Linked DNA regions of Homo sapiens: region 1 is linked to region 2. Evidence: promoter capture Hi-C in human tissues and cell types (Jung and others, 2019). All regions are on one chromosome and are shown on one strand. Each heading gives the region's core, a stretch centred on a gene start or on the middle of the fragment in contact. The rest is flanking DNA. Distances are from core to core; before and after follow the strand shown. Region 1 overlaps HAPSTR1 (HUWE1 associated protein modifying stress responses). Region 2 holds the start of GRIN2A (glutamate ionotropic receptor NMDA type subunit 2A).

What was found. The method cuts DNA at HindIII sites, captures the fragments that hold promoters and counts their contacts. A contact is called where the count stands out against the background at its distance.
Region 1: a contact is called between a fragment that was not itself captured here and the fragment with the promoter of GRIN2A in region 2, in 1 of the 25 tissues and cell types used here (dorsolateral prefrontal cortex).

Annotation. Positions count from the first base shown.
Region 1 is chr16:9,100,626-9,106,770 of GRCh38, reverse strand. It overlaps HAPSTR1 (HUWE1 associated protein modifying stress responses), which reads right to left. Exons shown (of 4, transcript NM_014117.3): 3 at 3,512-3,787. Among named protein-coding and RNA genes, the nearest start is that of HAPSTR1, 12 kb to the right of the region's middle. The HindIII fragment of the contact is 7,617 bases long and covers 1-6,145 here.
Region 2 is chr16:10,181,049-10,187,151 of GRCh38, reverse strand. It overlaps GRIN2A (glutamate ionotropic receptor NMDA type subunit 2A), which reads left to right and starts at 4,724. Exons shown (of 13, transcript NM_001134407.3): 1 at 4,724-5,275. RefSeq lists silencers at 5,457-5,516, 5,527-5,636. The HindIII fragment of the contact is 17,773 bases long and covers 1-6,103 here.

The sequences.
Region 1 (6,145 bases), core at 2,317-4,816, 1.1 Mb after region 2:
AATCAATTTAGCACATGCATGTTTATCTCTTTAATTCCTCTGTGAATCTAACATACAGATGACTAGGTCCCATAGGACACAGGAAAAAAAGCAACATGTTGCGAACAAGTGTCAAAATAAAGCACTGAATTAGTCTTTAAGCCTTGCTAACCACTAATTGAAGTAGCTTTGATAAAAACTATTTGAGGCCAGCACAGTGGCTCACACCTGCAATCCCACCACTTAGGGGCAAGCAGTGAGGCTAAGGCAGATCACTTGAGGTCAGGTGTTCAAGACCAGCTTCGCCAACATGATGAAACCCCATCTCTACTACAAATACAAAAATTAGCTGGGCGTGGTGGCAGGCGCCTACAATCCCAGCTACTCGGGAGACTGAGGCACGAGAATCATTTGAACCCAGGAGGCGGAAGTCGCAGTGAGCACTACACTCCAGCCTGGGCTATAGAGCGACACTCAGTCTCAAAAAAAAAAAAAAAAACCTATTTGATAACCATAAATTGATATGCCTTACTTTTTTTTCTTTAAATAGGGAGAGGGTTTCACCATGTTGGCCAGGGTGGTCTCAAACTCCTGACCTCAAGTGATCCACCCACCTTGGCCTCCCAAAGTGCCGGCATTATAGGTGTGAGCCACAGCACCCGGCCAATTGATATACTTTTGATTAAAGCTGTTTACATTAGTCTCTCCCACTAAACTGGGTTCCCAGGCTTACAAGGGCAATGACTGGGGATCTCATTCATTGTCATACTCTGTCTACACGAAATATTCAGCAGGTGTCAAGTCTGCCATTTTCCTTTAAATTAAGAACACAGTTATTTGGTTGGGCTGTATTTGATGGGGGTAGGGGTAAGGAAGGGGAAAAAAACTGAGGGAAAACTGTCCTCTCTTAAATACATAGGACATGAAGAGGAACTGAGTTTGCTTTCATTATAAACTCAAGCCTGCCTCAAAATACCAGATTCTTTTCCCATGTCCTTGTGCTTGCCAAACGCATGAATTTAGACTCACCCACAATGTAAAACTCCAAAACCTTCAATTTGGCCTAACTTAGAATTCATAAATTTGGCTAAGCAAATAATATGCAAGAGTGAATTGTGACATTGTATTTACCCTAACTATGGTGTTTCCAAATACATTTTAAAAGAGCACCTTAACAGTTTTCACTTCAGACAAATCAGATAATAAGGACACCCAGTTGAAGTCACTAATCTATGTTACTAGTTAATAATGGCCCTAGTACTAGAACCATTCAAATTACTTTCTTTAAATATTCAAATTAAACTACCATTCTCCTTAATACACTGATGTTCTCACAAACCAGTACAGCACAACTCAGTATAATTTATGTTTCTGTAGATTCTTTCAAGGGGCCCTATTACTTCACCACAACACTGTCTTAACCACATGAATTAGAGGTATGAACCCTAAGAGTAAGAATGCATTCAGTCTCCAATCTATACTGGATTAGTGCTACATTATAAATTTATTGAAGGTAAAGATCATTTTCTTCCTAGACAAAGCCTTATATTTAAGTTTTAAAGCCTCACAACTTAAACATGTGAAAATTATAAACAGTCCCTTCAACTGTATCATTGCTTAAAACTCCCAAAGTTCAGGAAAACAATAAATCACAGGTGGAACAGATTCAATATGAGAAAATGTAGTGGGAGTTGGAGAATACAGTTTTTCGAGGGCAGAGGGGGCTGGCTTGCCCTTTTTACTATTATGTACACTACTACTACGTTAAGATAACAAGCATGGTTTTTATGTTTCTTAAAACTATCTTCTAAAATATAACAGTAAAACAGAGTAAAAAGATACCTTAAGAGAAGCATGGAATGACCCACAACCCTCTTAATAAAGGAAGAAAATCACAATACTTAAGGAGAGACAACTGCATCAAATATTACCATGCGCTAAAATTAATCTAACAAACTATGTACACCTCTAGTTAATTGTTTTCCCAAACTTTAGGGGGAAAGATGTGAAACTCTCTAATTCAGCATAAACAGATCAATCCCATTTTTGCCTGAGCTTCCAAAGTTCTGACAGCCTAACTATTCCACTGTGTCAGGAACAGTGTGCAGTCTTAAAGTACTGCATCCACACAACCTGAACTTTCCTGCAATTCATGTTTTTGTTTTTAATTGTCCTAAACACTATCAAGGGAAAAAACAACATTGGGGTTTCAGGAAAGAACTACGGTTTGCCAGAGAGAACAAGATCTCTACAGGTATTATAAAGTCTCAATGATTCAACGTCTATAAAGTTTCTTTATATGCCACTATTTCTTAGTACCTTACCAGGTTACTTTGTTTTAGATGACCTGTACTATGGCCCAAAAATGTTAACTTTCAACAAGACTCATGGCCAGGCGCAGTGGCTCACACCTGTAATCCCAACACTTTGGGAGGCCAAGGTGGGCGGATCACCTGAGGTTGGGAGTTCGAGACCAGCCTGACCAACACGGTGAAACCCTGTCTCTAAAAAATTAGCCGGCGTGGTGGCACATGCCTGTAATCCCAGCTACTCGGGAGGCTGAGGCAGGAGAATCGCTTGAACCCAGAGGTAGAGGTCGCGGTGAGCCAATATCGCGCCAATGCACTCCAGCCTGGGCCACAAGAGCGAAACTCCGTCTCCAAAAAAAAAAAAAAAAGAAAAAAAGGATTCATGACCTAATTACTTCTACCTGCTTAGCCATCTGCGTGATCCATCTTTCCATCATGGTTTCAAGCAAGTCTTATTATTCTGTTGCTTTTTTTCCTACAGCAGTATTCAATGCTGTCACACAGGTTAACTCTCCCAGCTCTATTTGGAAGTCTGTATTAGACAGCAACAAGCAACAACAGACTTATCACTGACTACATTTCCCGGGTTTCTCCAGCAATACTAAAATCCCTTAGCCAAGAGTGCCTTCTTATGACAGGTCTGGCCTGGGGAGATAGAGATCCACCTGCCCACTGGCTGCACTCTGCTGGTCCTGCCTCTTAAAGTGCAAGGGACCTGAGGGACGACAGGCAGAAGGTCAAGTCTTACATCCATCCTCTCCCACCATCTACAGCAAACCAAGTAAGAAAGGTGTCAAGGGAGGTCCCAGGTCCCATGAGAACTAACCCAACAATTTCCCACCTTACTTGCCTGTCATGGACCATTAGAAATATAACAGAATTCTTAAGACACAAGAACTTCCTCTTTGACTTCAGAAGAGGAAAAAAACACGTACAACACATAAGTGTAAAGCGATAAATTCTAATCAACACTGCAGAAAGATATGTCATTTTAACACCAATAAGCTCAAACTAACTTTCTAAAAACATTTTCTAGGATAGGTTAGCTGACAGAAATCGCCCATATTAAGTTCTTAGCTTACATTCTATTAAACATTTCTAGAGCAAGCTGTTTACTGTAAGACAAAAAACAGTATATCTGGACCTAAACCTAACCGTGAAAAATGGGTCCACAGGCACCCTCTTAACCATTTTTCCAAAGAAATATGTTTAAACGGCTTTACCATGCAGAGCTATGGCTTCCCGGAAGGGTTGCAAATCAGTCTCTACAGATGAGCTAGTTTCCGTTGAAGTAGCTCGGTTAGGGGACACTACAGTCAGTCTTGGGGGAGCTCTAGAGTTTCGTGGTGGAGGAACTTTTCCACACAGGAAGCTGATCAAATCTTCTCGACGAATAGTTCTTCTGCGTTTTTTAACCCAAGCCAACACATCCTTATTGCGTCGCTGATAGCCAATCTGAATTCCAATATCAAAACTTCGTTGATGGGTATCCACGCTTTCTGTTAGAAAAAAAGAAAAAGAAAACATGTATCATGACCATTAGAGCCCGTATTCCCTTCTAAAGAAAACCATTTTACAATTTAACCAAAGTGAATACCATGATGTGGCCTCTGAGCCCATCAGTAATATAAACTGAAATGATTTCAGTCATAATGAAAATGTTATATGTAACATTTAATCTTAATGGTCTAAATTCAGTGTTTACTTATCACAGTCCTGGAGCTTGGCTTGTTAAAAAAAAAAATTTAACAGAAACAGAGAGATTAGGTATCTTTAATGAAATTACCTAAAATAACTTGCATCACATCATTCAACAGATGTCTAAATATTGCACATGCCTCAGGCCACGCTCATCTGCATTTACCACGTCATTGTGGAGATACATTCCTACTGACAGATTCAGCACCAAGAATGAGGAACAAGCTGAAGGCAGCAGCAAATGTTTTAGAAGGAAAAATTAATTCTGACTGATGGCTCAACACTAAAACCAAATAGCATGGTGGAAAACAAAAAGCTTTATTCATTTCCCTGGGTATACTCATTTTGCTTCCAGTTCTCAACAGCTTCCTGTAACTCAACCATTCCCAACAGATCTCCTAGACTAAATTCTCTGCATATACTCCACCTGGGTTTTGGTAAAATGATCTCTACCTTTTAGTGGTTTCATTTAGTTGAAAAAAAATTTGAAAATTTAAGTGACTATTATTTAGTTTTAATTGAGCTGCTGTGCCAGCAGAACATCACCAGTATGTCTTTAATGGCATTAACCAACATCGTTACTTTATCCTTGAACTTTCCGTAAAAGCAACAATACTGTGTACATTTCTCTATTACTTTTCCCGGCTTTGATTATTTCGTTTTATTTTATTTTTTGAGACGGAGTCTCTCTGTTGCCCAGGCTGTAGTGCGATGGCTCGATCTCAGCTCACTGCAACCTCCGCCTCCAGGGTTCTCCTGCTTCAGCCTCCTGAGTAGCTGGGATTACAGGCGCACGCCACCATGCCTGGCTAATTTTTCTATTTTTAGTAGAGACCGGGTTTCACCATATTGGTCAGGCTGGTCTTCAACTCCTGACCTTGTGATCCGCCTGCCTCAGCCTCCCAAAGTGCTGGGGATTACAGGCGTGAGCCACTGCAACCGGCGGCTTTAATTTCTTGTCTGCTACATCTACAGCAGACTCTCAAAGGATGGGCAATAGTCAAACAATGTAAAGCTATGTTCCAGAAAAAAAAAAAAAAAATCATCCAGACATCACAGAGGATGCCAAGCTGAATTTGCACTATTAAAGAAAATGGCAAGAGGGAAGCACAACAACCAGAACTTTATAATAAGGCCTACTCTTAAGCAGATGACAGTCTTTATTGCTAAAGACAAAGAAAAACAAGGATATTGTCCACAGATCTTTTCTCTTAAAAAAATAATCAAAGTAGGACCTGGGATGTTAAAAAGAAAGAAAAAATACTTTAAAATGAAAAGGACCAGGACAAGAATTCAACATCAATTTGGAAACCTGATATGCTATAGAGTGCATTCATATCTTCTCCATCACAACTCTGAGAAGGTGGATTATTCTAATTTTACAAATATAAAAAGCAGCTCAAGAGTGAAGTAACTTCTCCAGTGTCTCACTACTGGTATAACATGAATCAATAATTTTGATTTCTCACTTCTTCATAAACAAAGCATGAACTCCATTTTGAATGTAAATAACAGTAGAGAGGGTCACCACTTTTCCCATCTCTTTAGGAAAAGATTTAGATGAGCCAACCCTAAAGGGGTGGACAAACCTAAAGATGACCTTGTAGTGCTGTACCTAAAACTTAAATGATTCTGAAAGAGCTGGAGGCATTAAGAGAAATCAAGTCATTGACCAACTAAACTTATCACACCACATAAAGGATAAATGTAAAATGTGTTAACCTAGAAGCAATCAGGTTTTTAAACCTATCCTACCTAGAAGAATTGCTTTTAATCAAGCTTGTAAATGAAGAAGTTTCTGTTTCTGAAGAGAATGAGGGTATTTTATTCTTCAAAAGCCAAATGGAGGTAAGCCCAGCCCTGCAGAAACAGAGGAAAAAAAGTCTAAAGCATAGTAAAAGGGATACAAGAAACAAGTCTGAAGCAGGCTTGGAGAGTGCAAAGAAAGATGGCCAGGCATGGTGGCTCATGCCTGTAATCCTAGCACTTTGGGAGGCCAAGGTGGGTGGATCACCTGAAGTCAGGAGTTCGAGACCAGCCTGGCCAAGATGGCAAAACCCCGCCTCTACTAAAAATACAAAAATTAGCCAGGCATGGGTGGTAGGCACCTGTAATCCCAGCTACTCGGGAGGCTGAGGCAGGAGAATCACTTGAACCTG
Region 2 (6,103 bases), core at 3,475-5,974:
TTTTTATTTTTTTTGAGACGGAGTTTTGCTCTTGTTGCCTAGGCTGGAGTGCAGTGGAACAATCTCAGCTCACTGCAACCTCCGCCTCCCAGGTTCAAGTGATTTTCCTGCCACAGCCTCCCAAGTAGCTGGGATTACAGGTGTACACCACCATGCCTGGCTAATTTTTTGTATTTAATAGAGCTGGGGTTTCACCATGTTGGTCAGGCTGGTCTTGAACTCCTGACCTCAGGTGATCCACCCGTCTCGGCCTCCCAAAGTGCTGGGATTACAGGCATGAGCCACCGTGCCCAGACTAAAGGGGAGTTTATTAAGGAATATTGACTCACATGATCACAAGGTGAGGTTTCACAATAGACTTCAAGCTGAGAAGCAAGGAAGCCAGTCCGAGTCCCAAAGCTGAAGAACTTGGAGTCCGATGTTCCAGGGCAGGAAGCATTCAGCCCCAGGGGAAAGATGGAGGCCAGAAAACTGAACCAGTCTAGTCTTTCCATATTCTGCCTGCTTTTATTCTGGCTGTGCTGGCAGCTGATTAGACGGTGCCTACCCAGATTGAGGGTGGGTCTGCCAGTCCACTGACTCGAATGTTAATCTCCTTTGGCAACGCCCTCACAGACACACCCAGGAACAATACTTTGCATCCTTCAATCCAATCAAGTTGATACTCAGTATTAACCATCACAGTTGATATAGCTGCTATGAAGAAGTTTTTCTTATCATCTGAAACTCTTTGAGCAGCAAAATTCTGCTTAGCATCCTAAGCTGCATTGAGAATTAAGCTTGGCAGCATAGATGGAGTAAGGCTGTCATGATCTTATACACGCTGTCACAGTCTCTGCATGTATGGTGAAGTTCCAGGTGCCTGACACACGATGTGCTCCACCCTGGTGACATGTCCACCCCAGTGCAACTCCAGCCTCCTGTGCCTATGTTTAGAGGCACAGTGTCCCTTCCAATGAAGGGCTGCCTTCTTTCTCTATTCAAAAGAGGCCGTATCAGTTTGATTTATCTTTCTATAAGTCTGATCATGAATAACTTAAAACCCTGAATACCAGTATTTTTCAAGAAAGACAAATCCAATTTCAGGGTCAGCATCAATTTATGAGAATAGCAAGTGCAGAGGCATCATCAGAATCCCCTATGGATCTAAAATAACTGTCCGTGCTTGGCCCCACACCTGGAGATCCTGATGGAGTAGATCTAGAGTGGGCATAGGCATCTGTGTTTTATTTTCTTTATTTATTTTTTTTGGGACAAAGTCTCACTCTGTCACTCAGGCTGGAGTGCAGCAGTGTGAACACTTGGGTTGTCATCATGTTGCCCCGGCTGGTTTCAAATTCCTGGGCTCTCATCATGTTGCCCAGGCTGGTTTCAAACTCCTGGGCTCAAGTGATCCTCCTGCCTTAGCCTCCCAAAGTTCTGGGAGTACAGGCGTGAGCCACTGCACCCAGCCACATCTGTATTTTAAAAAGTCCCATAGATAAAACCCACATATCCATTGCAGGAGACTGGATACACAAAGTGTGGCTTATCCATGCAATAGAGAGCTAGCTGCTCAACAATAAAAAATAAAAAAGCTGTTGATACATGCAACAACACAGAGGAATCTTCTAGACATCAGGGTAAGTGAAAAAAGCCAGTCACCAAAGAATACATAGTGTAAAATTCCACTTATATGAAGTTCAGAAAAGGGCAAAACTAATACATGGTATTAGAAATCAAAATTGTAGTTTACACTGAATGGGGGGAGTGGGATTGACAACAAAGGGACACAAGAAAACTTCCTGGTGGTGATGAAAATACTCTGTACCTCATTTTACGTGACGGTCTATGTGGATACACACAATCTCAAAAGTAACAAACTGGCTGGGTGCAGTGGCTCACACCTGTAATTTCAGCCTTTGGGAGGCCAAGGCCAGAGGATTTCGTAAAGACAAGAGTTTGAGACCAGCATGGACAACATAGCAACACCCAATGGCTACAAAAAATAAAAAATTTGCCAGATGTGGTGGCATGTGCTAACCACCACAAGTCCTAACTACTTGGGAAGCTGAGGCAGAAGGATCACTTGAGCCTAGGAGTTCAAGTTAATAGTGAGCTACGACCACACCACTGCACTCCAGCCAGGGCAAGAGTGAGACCCTGTCAAAAAAACAAAACAAAACAAAACAAACAAACAAAAAAATAAAAAAACACCAAAAAACCTTCACAAATGAAACCCTTGAGAGATATGCATTTTATTGTCTATAATTTATAACTCATTTAAATAAAATGGCCTAACTTCCCCTTTAGACCCCAAGCCAGAGTCTTGCATGGGTGCCAAGGAGTGGCCTAATCAGTTCAGCCCAGCCATAGACTCAAGAAAGGAAACATTTTCCTGTTCCCTGCCTTATATTATACAATCCCCCATTTTAATTTACTTTCCAGCATTTCCCTCACGCTTTCTCTGTCTTTTGGATTAAAAAAAAAACAAAAACAAAAACCCAGGAAACCCAGCATAGAACAACCAGCTCAATAATGAATCCATTTGTCTCCACACACTGTGCCCCTCTCCTGTCTCCATTTCAGCAGCCACATCCACATTCTTGGAAGAAGTTCCCCTGCTTCCAGGCTACTTCAAGGTGCATGATGTTGATTGAGCATCTACTATGTGCCAGACCTTGTTGACCCCTTTATTAAGGCTACTTCCTTTTCTTTTCAAAATAATCCTGAGAAGTAGATGTTTTTACTGCCCCCCATTTCCAGATTAGTGATCAATAAAGGGAAGTAATATAATGTCCAAAAGTGATATTTTAGTTTGATCCAGGTGCCATAGCAAAACATCATCAACAGCAGAAGTTTATTTCTCTCACTTCTTGAGGCTGGGAGGTCCAAGATGAAGCAGCAGCAGACTCAGTATTTGGGGAGGGCCTAGTTCCTGTTCATAGGCCGATGCCTTCTTGATTAAGTCTCACTTGGTGGAAGGACCTAGCTGACTCTCTGGCATCTCTTTTATAAGACCACAAATCCCATTTTACTCTCATGAAGCCATGAAGTCACCTCCTAAAGTCCCCACCTCCTAATACCATCACCTTGGGAGTTAGGATTTTATCCTATGAATTTGGGGGTGGGAACACACACATTTAGACCGCAGCAGGTGACATTAGGTTAAGTGGAGGAGGCAGGGTTGGAACAGTCATTGCAAAACCTCTTAGAATTTAAGACCCCTTTCCTTCCAAGGCCTGAAAGGCAGACAGGCGTTGGAGATACAGGTGAATATAAAAGGGGCAGAGCTCCTCCCTTGACCATGTATTTCATGCCCAGTCGCTAGAATTCAAGTCAACCAAGCCCTCACACACCCGGGCCGTCCCATGTTCTCTGGCTCACCTCTTCTGGTAGCTTAGAAGTGGCAGCCTCAGGGAGGCTTCTGTTTGGTAGAACTTAGAAGGAAGCATGTGGGAAATGCAGATGTCTTTGCTTTTAGGATTCTGGCTCCCTGAGATCAGAGGAGTGGGTTCCCGTACGGGGGTGGCGAGGCACAGGGAGAAGCATTGGAGCAGACTCTGTGTGTGTGTGTGTGTGTGTGTGTGTGTGTGTGTGTGTGTCGGCGCGCCTGTGCGTGGAGGGGGATAACTGTACCCAGCGCGAGGCACTGGGGGAGGAGGAAGCGGTAGCAGAGATCTGAATAATTGATTCTTCAGCCGCACCAGACGCCCGGGAGCGGGCGGAGAGCGTGGTTCCAACACCACGGACAGCAGCGCGCGCCGCCGCAGGCGCCCCCGTCGCCAGCCAGCCACCTATCCTGGCCTTATTTGCCGCCGTGCGCTCTCGGAACGGGTGGCCGCGCTCCGCGTCGCCGCCGAGGGACTGCGGGGTCTGTCTCGACCCACCTAGGAGAGAGGCTGCGGGCAGGAGACGCTTTCGCCCGCCGGAGCTCGAAGCCTCTTGGGCTTGAGCGGGGGCTACTGCGTCTCGCCGGCTGAGAACAAGTCCCTAAGTTGGTGTGGAGGGCGCCGCTACCTTCCTTCTCCTCTTCCTCGGAGGCGACCGCAGCAGAAAGACGCCCCGGGAACCCGGCTTTGCCAGTGCTGTGAACCAGGGTGTCCAGGCGCTCACCGGACTCCCGCTGGGAAGTGGGGAGCCGAACGCCCGGCGCGGAGCTGGCCCAGCAGCGAAGGGCCCGGAGGGAGCTGCCTTTCCCCGCCCGCGCCTCTCTCGGCCGGGGACCGCGGGGATCCCCGGCCACACGCGAGCGCGCTCCCACACTCACACACACACTCGCCCTCAAACACACCAGCCCGGAGCTGGGTTGCGGAGAGGGTGCTCCGGCGCGCTCAGAGGACCGGGCAGTTGCCGTCCGGAGTGGGGCAGGAAGCGGAGCTAGGGATCTTGGAGGGGAGCTCCTAGGGCTTGGCCGGATCATGGGACCGGGTGAGCGCTGAGAATCGCGGCCGCAGCCATCAGCCCTGGAGATGACCAGGAGCGGCCACTGCTGAGAACTATGTGGAGAGAGGCTGCGGTGAGTGCTAGCGCGGGACGCCGGGCCTGGGAGGCCCCCTTGGGAAGGGGGGAGGTGGGAGGCCTGAAGAGGGAGGAAGCGGCAGGATCACAAGAGGGTCGCTGCGTGGGAAAGATCCACCTCCCTCGGGGAACCGGGACCGCGGGAGCCCGCGTCCTTCCCTCCCCCTCTCCTACTGCTGGCTCGTCACAAACTCAGCCAGCGCCCCCCCACCCTCGTTACCTCCTCTTTCTCTCCCTACCTCCCTCGCTCAGCAGCTCCCGGTCGCACAACTCCCAGCAGCCGGCGCTGGGGAGGTGGTAGGGGGTGCGGGTGGAGGTGCCCAGTTAGCTTCTCGTGGGTGGCCAACCTGGGGCTCCCATTCTCCTGTGCACCCTGGAGTGGAGCTCCCGCTATCAGCCACAGGGGCTGAGGATCCGCACTGGGGGCGTCGTGGGCATCGGGCTTCAGCTTCCCCCCTCTTGTCTAGCCCCCCTGGGCGCATAGGGGGGCTTGTGAGCACTGCAGACTGCAGCCTTCCCCTCAACCCTCCCTCCCCTCGTTGGTGGGCTGACCCTGCCTCTCCTTCTCTCCTCCGCCCCGTTAGAGCCCTGCTGCAGAGCCTCCGGCTGGGATAGCCGCCCCCCGTGGGGGCGATGCGGACAGCGCGGGACAGCCAGGGGAGCGCGCTGGGGCCGCAGCATGCGGGAACCCGCTAAACCCGGTGGCTGCTGAGGCGGCCGAGATGCTCGTGCGCGCAGCGCGCCCCACTGCATCCTCGACCTTCTCGGGCTACAGGTACGTCCCAGAGGGAGATCAGGGCTCCTTGGGCCGGGGAGGAGGGAGACTCGACCGGAGGGAGAGCGGGAGAGGGATCAGGCTAGAGAGGGAGAGGGAAAGCGGGAGGGAGCCCAGCGGCGAAGTGCAGGAGGGGCACCAGGGGGCGCTGCGGCTCCGCGCTCCGCGGCGCTTACCCAGGAACGTCGAGGCCTCTTGGAGTTCGCCTCAACTTCCCCCGGCTCCAGCAGCGTCCGTCCCGAGAGGCGCGCGTCAGGGCACGCGTGCACGACCGTGCTGGTATTTGCAGGTACGCAGGGCTGTGCACCTGCCGCAGTTCATGCGTGTGCACCACCTGAGGACATGTGAGGACTCCGGCTGGCCGTGGGCACCGCTACAGCAGTCTGAGGAAGTGCGCAGAAAAGCGCGCGTGCCTATGAGCGTGTGCGGCCCACTGCCCACGTGCACCTAGGACTTGGCAACAGCGCCCGCAGTAGAAAGGCTAGGGAGGGGCTGTACAGTCCACGTCCGTCTGGGAGCTTCTTGGGAGCCTACCTTTCCCCCTACGCACGTTCTTTGCCAGCTCCTACGCGCTGGCCCGCGGGGGGACGCGCCTACTCTCCAGAATTCAGCATTGCACACGGCGCGCGTGAGAGAGGGTGTGTGTGTGTGAACATGTGTGTGTGCGTGTGTGTGTGCACGTGTGTGTGCACGCGCGCGTGTAGGGGTGAAGGACTCTCCACGGCCCCTTGGCTCGAGGTGGGGCGAGCCCCAAGTTCCCCAGGCACAGCGGAGCCTGGGCCCACCAGGCAGCGTCCTCACTCCCAAGCACTTGGGGTGTACTCTGAC